2 separate regions of the Homo sapiens genome follow, and region 1 is linked to region 2. Evidence: promoter capture Hi-C in human tissues and cell types (Jung and others, 2019). All regions are on one chromosome and are shown on one strand. The core of a region is centred on a gene start or on the middle of the fragment in contact, and the rest is flanking DNA. Distances in the headings are between cores, read along the strand shown. Region 1 has its middle 130 kb from the start of SAMD5. Region 2 holds the start of SAMD5 (sterile alpha motif domain containing 5).

Region 1 (4,445 bases), core at 381-2,880, 130 kb before region 2:
ATGCAATTTTAAAGTTTCTACAAGAGTCTAGCGAATTTTCAAAGGGATTTTTGAGGAGGTGAGGAGGCAGGACAAGGGAAGCTAACATTAAATTAAAAAATACTTAATTGCTAAGCAACAAGATAAGAATCTAAGTGATCTTAAAGACAAAGTCCTCAGGTCTAACTTTGTAGGTCAATAGCATTGATGCACAATCTTGCAAAGCCTGTGGCTGTTTGGCTTGGCAACTTTTCTAGGTGCTTTTCCACTTTGGTATTGAGGAAATAGCATCATCATACAATTTTATTTATTTTAATAATGATGCTTCCCATTGAACCTGTTTTAAATGGGATGGGACTGGTTTATTTGGGTAAATGTTGAAGTTAATAATATGTCCTTCTTCAATATGTGAGAAAAACTTTAGCATTAACCATGCTTAAGGCTTCCTCCTTGAATCTTGACTAGATTTTGCAGACTTCTGCTTAATTTTATGTCTGTTATTCTTTTTTTTTTTTTTTTTTTTTTTTTGCGACAGAGTCTTGCTCTTGTCACCCAGGCTGGAGGACAGTGGCGTGATCTCAGCTCACTACAACCTCCACCTCCCAGGTTCAAGTGATTCTCCTATCTCAGCCTCCGGAGTAGCTGGGATTACAGGTGTACACCACCACACCCGGCAATTTTTTTTTTCTTTTTTTTTTTGAGATGAAGTCTCACTCTGTCACCAGGCTGGAGTGCAGTGGTATGGATTCTCAGCTCACTGCAACCTTCACCTCCCGGGTTCAAGCGATTCTCCTGCCTCAGCCTCTGGAGTAGCTGGGACCACAGGCACGTGCCACCACACCCAGCTAATTTTTGTATTTTTAGTAGAGACAGGGTTTCACCATGTTGGCCAGGATGGTCGCGATCTCTTTACCTCGTGATCTGCCCGCCTCAGCCTCCCAAAGTGCTGGATTTACAGGCATGAGCCACCGCGCCCAGCCGTCATTCTTTACCATGAAGCTTTTTAGCCATAATGTGTGTGACGGCAGCTGAACAATTCAGATTTCAAATTACTCCTTTCTCCCATCTCTACCTTTAAAAATAACTTCCAATATTCTTTCCCTTTACAGTCAGTGGCAACCTGTTCTAATAGAAAAGAAAAAAAAAATCTCAATTAGAAATTGCCCTTGTTTCCATATGGTTATTAAAAATGATCTACACTGAAGTTTTTAGAGCATGACTGCCAACCAAAACAGAATGGATGTTCAAACTGATCAATCTGAATAACTCTTATCTCATGATTTACATGAAAAATTCTCCCAAAGAAAGATGCAGAGGAAACACAGGCACCTTTTTCAATGCTTCCTAATCAGAAAGGCAGCAGTTAGGAAGGAACACAAGCCTTATGCTACCCTCTGCTCTTGCTATTCTTCCAGGATTCCTGGCTAACAAAAGAGGAGAATGTTGCTGGGACAGGGGAGGATGGAGATGTAGCACCCACCCCTTGGGAGTGAAGCCCGCTGAGATGAGGATGAGCCATAGCTCCTCGGGGACCCCAGAGCTGCAGCTACAGTCTTTCTTACTCATCACGGGCTGTGCTTTGAGGGATCTGAACACAGCTATGCACAAAGTGTATTGAAAATACCATTCACATGCATAAATATATGTGTGGGCTACATAGAATAAAACTTTAATATCCTATCTTGGATACATGTATATTTTCATAGACCAAATAATGAATAATGTTTCTCATTTTAAAAATTATCTACTTCATTAATTGTTCTTTTATATTTTCTTAATTCATACAATTATAGTATTCTGCTTAGACTACATCAAATTGAAACCACATCAAAGCTAGAAATTCTGGCTTCCTGTCATGGATTCCAAGACTAGAAAATTCAAAAAAGGTCAGAAAATGAATAACTTTCATTTGCCAAGTACTCGCAATTTGCAGTTTAAATAACTAACTCCGCCTTGTCTATCTTTAGAATCACAATAGATAGCACAATGCCTGGCACAGAACTCACCCAGGTCAGCCAAAGTCTATATATCTGTCCTAACTTTTCGATCTCATTGGGAAAAATCAGCCAGTATTTGATCTGATACAAACAAATTAATAAACATATTAGAAAACACTAGCTTACTAAGTCATTATCTAGTAAAGAAATGTATTGTTAAATTTTTTGTCAAAATCCATATTACAGGTAACACAAAATCAATTTACTAGCACTGTCTCTGAATTCCAGAAGTTCATCATGTAAAACAGAAAATATTGAAACTGACACATTTATGAAGAATAAATCTGCATTCAATTTATTCCATAATAGGCTATAAAAGTGTTTGACATCAAGGATTGAGGTCTCCCACACTTATTTGCCAGAAGATGAGTTGGCCAACCCACTGGCCACGCACACACAGTTACCCGAGCCCACACATCTCAAAATAATGCCTCAAAACTGAGGGCAAGTCCTGCTGGGCAGAGCTGAATTTCAAACCAGGCTCAGGAGATGAGAAAACATCAACACGATCACACACCAGTCACTCACATCTTCCATTCCTCATCAGGGTTTTCAAAGGAATTCACAAGGGAGCTGTGATTCACAGAATGGATGGAGAAAATGTAATTATCCTACTTTAAAACAAAATCAAATTGCCAAAGTATATATTTAGGCAGAAAAAATACCTTTATTAAATTTCTTTGAAGTCTTTGGTGAGCAGAAGGAAAAATTTCAGTAGTTTAGATAAATGGACTAATGCTAATGCTCCTAACTGATAAATAAGAAGTAAGTTACGTGTGCCATCACTATCCTGTTTCTTATCGAGAAGCAATGCATTTTCAGAAATAGACACGTTTAAAAATAGCATCGAAAATGACTTCCTTTGCATTACGCTATATTTTTCCCAAATTTTTGGTGGGGAGAGAGAGGGAGGGAGAGAGAGAGAGAACACTCAGTCAAGCAGGTATAAATGGCAAAGCTTTTCTCTGTAGTCTCCATTACCATTACGAAGTGTAATTGAATGTATTAGCAGGTCTCTGTAGGAATGTGATATGCTAACACACTCTAATTTTCATTAGTTTCTCAAAACTGTCATGTGAGGAATTTGAAATATGTGCATGAGAGAAAATAATAATGGCTGGTACTGAACAAAGGTATTAAATTGGTTTAAAATGAAAAAAAAAAAAAACCGAACTTGCTTTTGAAAAGGAAGATGCTTAAATCATACTCAGAAAAGCACTCTGATGACAGCCTACCATTCGTTTTCCTGAAACAGCTGCTGTGCACAAGAGTGAGAATGAACCTGTAAGTCCTCATGTCCCCATCATGGTGAATACCATTTTACTGTATGAGGGTCAATTTAGAAAAGCTAAAATGTGTTCCTGAGGTGAACGGTTTCTTTTTCCTTTCTCAAAATGAAAAGGTGTATAATCCCTCGCCTATGTCTTACCACTTAGACTGCAGGTCTGCCTAGCCCTGCTGAGATGTAAATACCTTGGCACATCTGGGGAGTCACAAAATGGCAATAGCCTTATAGCCCTTCATCCCTCCCATCAAATAAGCACATTAGAGAAGTCTGTTTATAGAAGGTATTTCATTCCATCCTTAACCCTGAGGGTGATGAATAGGTATTATCAGCTCCACTTTTATTTAAGAAAGCTGAGGTTCAGAGAGATAAAGTCATACTTGTCCACAAGTTCACTAGGGATCTGGAGCTGAAATGAGCTTATTCCATTAAGTGTGAGGTTTATGGAGAGCCTGGTATGTCACACTGAGCTGAATATGATGAGGCACTCTGCTCACCCAACCAGGACTCCCTCAGTTGTGGCCTGGGATCTCTTCTTTGTTCATATGGGGAGGGCTTGGCAGAGGGAACCCTGCTACCTGGAGTGATCTGGCTGGTCCTAGAGAATGGCGGCCATCTAACACTTGGGCTATTCTGTGCCGTGTGAACCCATGTGAGCTCCACGGGCTTCCAGCACCCAGACCTCAGCCTGCTGGGGCCTGCTGCCACTCCTGCAGACTTGTCACTTCTCCCTCTTCATTGTTCTCACTTGGCTAGATCGTTATTGCCCTGGATGAGTGATTGTAAGACACCCCTCTTCACCCAATACGATGTCTTTAAAAAAAAAAATTCCTTAAGTCTATTGTGTGGTCTGAACTGAAAAGTATTTGAAATCAGTCTGTGGACCATAATACAATAGTAGGTAGCAGTAGTTGACAGCTAGCTGGGTCTCAGGGTTGTTCATCAAGGGTTTAGATCAAACTGAGTAAAATGTAACATTTGGTAACCACATGGCTGACCCTTTATAAGGATTATTAGGTGTAGAAAAGTTAAGTAATTTGAGAGGCTTGGATCTTCATCAAGGTCTGTCTGACCCCAGAACCCAAATGCCTAACCATTGGGCAGCACCACCTCTACCCACCATGCCAGGTAGTGACCACAAAAAAATTGGTAAAAAGTGACAGATGCAGCAATCCAACAACAGA
Region 2 (4,848 bases), core at 919-3,418:
GCTTTGAGCACACATCAGTGGCACAGAGTGGGTAACTGGAACACGTGTTTAATTTGAAGCACTCTGTCCTCCCAACCTGCCTTCTTTGTATCCTCCTTAAAAAACCAATTAACATGGTCAAGCAGGTGATCTGAATTGCCTATGGTACGTGCAAGGTAGTAGATAATATTAAACCCCTTATTCCCATCTACCTTAGGTATTGTTATCTACTCTTAACAAAGCTTTCCCTTTAACTTCCTTAACTCCAGGCATTACAGCCTTTACTTAAGATTCTACAGCAATACTACCAGGGCCCAAGATACCCACACAACACTGAGATTATCCACATTTCCTATTAGGGAGTTGGGTTTCTGTGGCCCACCAGCTGAGTATGTTTGCCATCATTTTCTCCCTGGGCTCTTCTAAGTCTTGATTTTTAAGCTGAGGTGCTCATATTCCTGTGCACCTTCTGCAATCCTGAGCGTTACCTGTGCTGTCTACTTCTCTATCAAGTCAGGACCCTCTACTCCGACAGCCGCCTGAACTAGAAACCTAAACGGAACAGACTCGCAGCTAGAAGCAGAGCTCTGGTGTGAAGTACCATTTTCTGTTAATTACCCAGCTCCCACTCCACATTTCGGAACTTCCAGGTTCCTTCCCTGAGGCCCCCGGTGCAGAGGATTCCCCTTTAGTTCACTTGTGCTCGGTCCTCCTCTCCCAAATGCAGGTCCACTCACACTTCCTGGAAGTCACAGTTGTACCTACTTCATCTTATCTGGCTTAATAATAAACCAAACTCGTGACAGCCCAGACCTCTGAAGCACATCCTGTGGCCCGATTATCTCTGATGTCCTTAGCACCTTATTGCCTCCAGTATACACAAGTTTAGGAAATCATCTCAAGTGGACTGACACGTGCTTCCTTCACTTTTCCTCTTAAAATGCTCATGTGAATGGTAAGCTTCTCAAATTTGCAGCAGCGCTGGGATTTTTTATGGAATTGAGAAAGGCAGGGCCTGACTTTCCACTCTTTAAAGAGTTCACCGATTTCCCTTAGGAGTTTCTCAAGACTCAAAAAAGGAAAAGAAAGAGAAAAAGGAAGGTAGAAAGCAATGTAGGTATTAACCATTTTTTCTGGTACTCTTCAAACCCAAAACTACTATAGAGGGCGTTAGGAATTCCCCCTGGCTACCAGGTGAAGCAGCGCGAGTCCGATTCCTGACAGGCGAGCACCAGAGAGGATGCGGAGTTTTGGTCGTTAGTTTAGAGATAACATCTGGATGCGGGGGCTTGTCTTACCAACCACTGGAGACACCAGGAAGGACGAAATAATGGGCTAATACAGAAAGAACATAGAAAAGGGTCCCAGATACCCAAAGCCTCCTGGCCTCTCCGTCGTCACCTGGAATGGGTTGCAAAGCCTTGGCACAGGCAGCTGGGCTGTGTCCCCTCCCGCCGCGCGCCCCGGGCCGCCCGGACGGCACCTCCTTACCTTGCGGGAGTACGGGGGCTTGCTCAGGTGGATGCCGTCACGGACGAGCTTATCCCTGATCATGATCTTCAGCTTCAGTTTGGGGTAGCTCACCAGCTCCCTGCTGCGGGGGGCGGTCGTGTGGCCGCGAGAGTCCCCGCGGGTGCCCTGGGCCGGGCCGCCGCACGGCTCCCCCCGGCGGCCGGTGGGGACGGCGTCGGCGGGCGGCCCGGGGGGCGCCGGCTGCGGCTCAAGCGTGAAGTAGAGGCCGGCGGCGTTGGCGTCCTGCTCCCGCAGCCGGCGCACGGCCTCCAGGATACGGCGGCGGTGCGCGGGCGCCAGCACCCCGATGGCATCCAGGTCCGGGTCCCCGATCTGCTTGCACACCTCCAGGTCATCGTAGCCGTTATCCACGAAGGACTCCGCGTACTGCGGAAGCTGCAGCGCTTTGAGCCACTCGTAAACTATGTTGGTGCACATGGTGGGACCGGGAACCCCGCCGCCGAGCACCTTCCCAGCGCCCAAATGGCACGGGCGGCACCAGTTCTTGGAACTTTTAATCCTCTCCTCCAAGGGGAAAAGGGTATCGCAGTAAAGTTTTCCTTTTAAAGGAAAGGCTCGGGCAGGAGACGGAAAACCATCAGAAGAAGCCTGAGGAAGGGAGAAGCGAACAAGCAGCAAAGTGAATTCCCCAAGCAGCAGCGGAGCTCGCAGGCACTGGCTGCTGGGCTGAGCAAGGCTCCGCGCCGCCCCTGGATGCGCCGCCGACGCTGCCGCCGCGGGGAGGGGCGCGCGACTGGCGCGGGAGGGGGCGGAGACGGGAGGGGCCGGGGCACACCCCTCGGACCTGCGCCGGGTCAGCGCTGCGCAGTGCCGCCCGCGAGTTTTCCCAGCCGGGACGGTCCGGCGGCTGCGCGCCGCATCTCGCGCTCTGGCAGCCGCCGCCGCCGCTGGCGCGCTCCGCGCCGCGAGGCGACTTCTCCACGCAGACCCGCGGCCGCTGGGAGCGCCTAGTCTTCGCGAGTGTCAGTCACTGTAGTCCTCCCGGCGGGAAGCCGGTGGCTTCTACGCTGCTGGGCTCCGTTGGCTGCCCTGGGTTGCTTTTCACATTTCTGTTTAATCTGACTCTTCTACCCGTGGAAGTCTGTGCTCACTTCTTCCCGACCCTGCCGGACTCCAGCTTCCGCGCCCGCTGGCAGCCCAAGGACACGTCCCGCCGCCCCACGGCGCTGGGGACGCTGCGGGGTTCAGTGTCCCTTCCTTCCGGATCCGCGTTTGAATCCCCCTTCCTCGGATCCCGTACGCAGCCCAGAGCCCGGCGATCTGACTTCTTCCGTGGGCGGCCACTCAGTGACCCGAGCGGCGGCGTTTTGGCCCGGAGGGTGGGCGCAACGTGGGGACCGCCCGGGTCCAGCCGGCTTGCGCGCCGCCCCTCCTCGCTGCAGCTGGGCACGTTGGGCGGCAGGAGAGGCTGCTGTCTTCCTGGCTCTCCCTTCCTAAGCTCCCGGGTCTGCGAAAGTTTGGGGTGGGTTGTACTTTCTCCTAGGTCAGTGTGTCCCACCCGGTACCCCACCCTCCTTTCTGCCCGGCCCCTCCCCCTCGTCGGCGCTATGCTTTCTCTCCGGGCCCCCCACCTAGTATACTGCACGGGCTCCCGGGGTGGCTTTGCCCCCGGGGACACTGCCAGGCGTTCGGTCCTGGAGCCCGGGAATCCGAGCCTATCCTCTCGCTCCCGCCCGGGGATCGCGTGAAAATCAATAGAGCACCACCCAGCTCGTGTTGGAAGGGACGCTCAGACATCTCCGCCCACGGCATTTTCCCTCTAGGAGGTAACAAAATCAATCGAGTTTCCCCATCATGCCAATGTCTGAGCAGCCTCTTGGGACTGGGGACTCGAGTGGCAGGTGGAACAGACCAAGCGCCTGGGCCCCATTTCCCGGTGTCTGACCTCTTCTTGGGACTAAGGGAAGTGAGGGACGGCGGGGGCAGGTACTGTCTCCTCTCTTTCCGCAGAAGGGCGATTCAGCTTCGCACCTGAGCTGTTTAAGGACCAGATCTGACCTTTTTTTCTGAAGATTGCCCGTGGGGCGTGCCAGTCTCTCGCCCGACCTTGGGAAGTGGACAAGGAGTGATTTCAGAGTCGTTTCTCGACCTGCTGTGTGTTTGGCATTTGGGTGGGTGGTTAGGTGGGCCCTCTTATCCTAAACCAAGAGAGCTTAACCCCCTCTTGGGACACGAACCCCTTAAAGAATCAGATGACAGCTTCTGTCCTTTTGCCCAGGAAAATACCCGACATAGGCGCACCCAAAACGTTCCCTACAGTCGCAGGGGGGTTCTGGTTTCCCAAACCCCGGGACTCACGAATCTCAAATTAAGGACAGCTGGCAGAAAGGACTGTCTGCTTAGGGGGAGGGGAGAGACCAACGCGGAGAGCCGGTGGAGCTGCTTGTGGCCCCAAACTTGGGTCACCCGGGACGCCCTTTCCGGAACCGAGTTAAGGTCTCGGACCCTGGTAGGTGGCGAAGCTCCTGGGCGCTGGGATGCTGGAAGGGCGCAGCCCTCCCCGCCCCGCGCGGGCCGCCGCCTCTCCCTCGCCAAAGCGGACTCACAGTGCCCCCTCGCGTCCGCGCGTTGACCCATTTTAAGGCGTTGTCCCTGTCCCCAAACTCATTCTATTCAGCAGAAGAAAGTGGGCTTTATGGCTTTATACTGGTTCCCCTTTGAAGCACAAATGTTTTTGTCACGTTTATCTTTATATCCCAATACTATCTCAGAAGGACCTTTGATTTTTTTTTAAAGAAAATATTTCAGCAGTTTGAATGATGCTGCTAAGAAACAGAAATTATCAGCAAATATTTATTGGGAAATTACTGTATGCCAGGCATCTATTCACAGATCTGTACACATATGGTAAATAGTAATATTATCCCATATCTTACAGAAGAAGAGATTGAGACATCAAAACTAATTTGCCAACGATCTCACTGTTACGGATGGAGCAAGGGGTTCGAATTCTGGGGGGATAAATTTAACATCAGCCTTCAGCCGTCCAGCTACTCACCTTCGAATCACAGTCCCCAGCCTGTGCTGTGCTGTGCAACATGTAGGGGGAAAAAATGGGCAGGTTGTATGGGGTGAGGATTTTTGTTTGTTTGGGGGTTTTTTGTTTGTTTGTTTTGGGACTGGAAAACTTAAAGCTCAGGAGTTTTTTTGTCTTTTTTTCTTTCTTTCTTTCTTTCTTTTTTTCTTTTCTTTTCTTTTCTTTTTTTTTTTTTTTTTTCTTTTTAACAGAGTCTCACTTTGTCGCCCAGGCTGGAGTGCAGTGGCATGATCTCGGCTCACTACCACCTTCGCCTCCTGGGTTCAAGCAATTCTCCTGCCTCAGCCTCCTGAGTAACT

Evidence for each region. The method cuts DNA at HindIII sites, captures the fragments that hold promoters and counts their contacts. A contact is called where the count stands out against the background at its distance.
Region 1: a contact is called between a fragment that was not itself captured here and the fragment with the promoter of SAMD5 in region 2, in 1 of the 25 tissues and cell types used here (adrenal gland).

Annotation. Positions count from the first base shown.
Region 1 is chr6:147,636,560-147,641,004 of GRCh38, reverse strand. It overlaps a transcript of SAMD5 not described here. Among named protein-coding and RNA genes, the nearest start is that of SAMD5, 130 kb to the right of the region's middle. The HindIII fragment of the contact is 5,985 bases long and covers 1-4,445 here.
Region 2 is chr6:147,506,010-147,510,857 of GRCh38, reverse strand. SAMD5 (sterile alpha motif domain containing 5) reads right to left here and starts at 2,168. Exons shown (of 2, transcript NM_001030060.3): 1 at 1,471-2,168. The coding sequence starts at 1,929. RefSeq lists a silencer at 3,967-4,016. The HindIII fragment of the contact is 17,257 bases long and covers 581-4,848 here.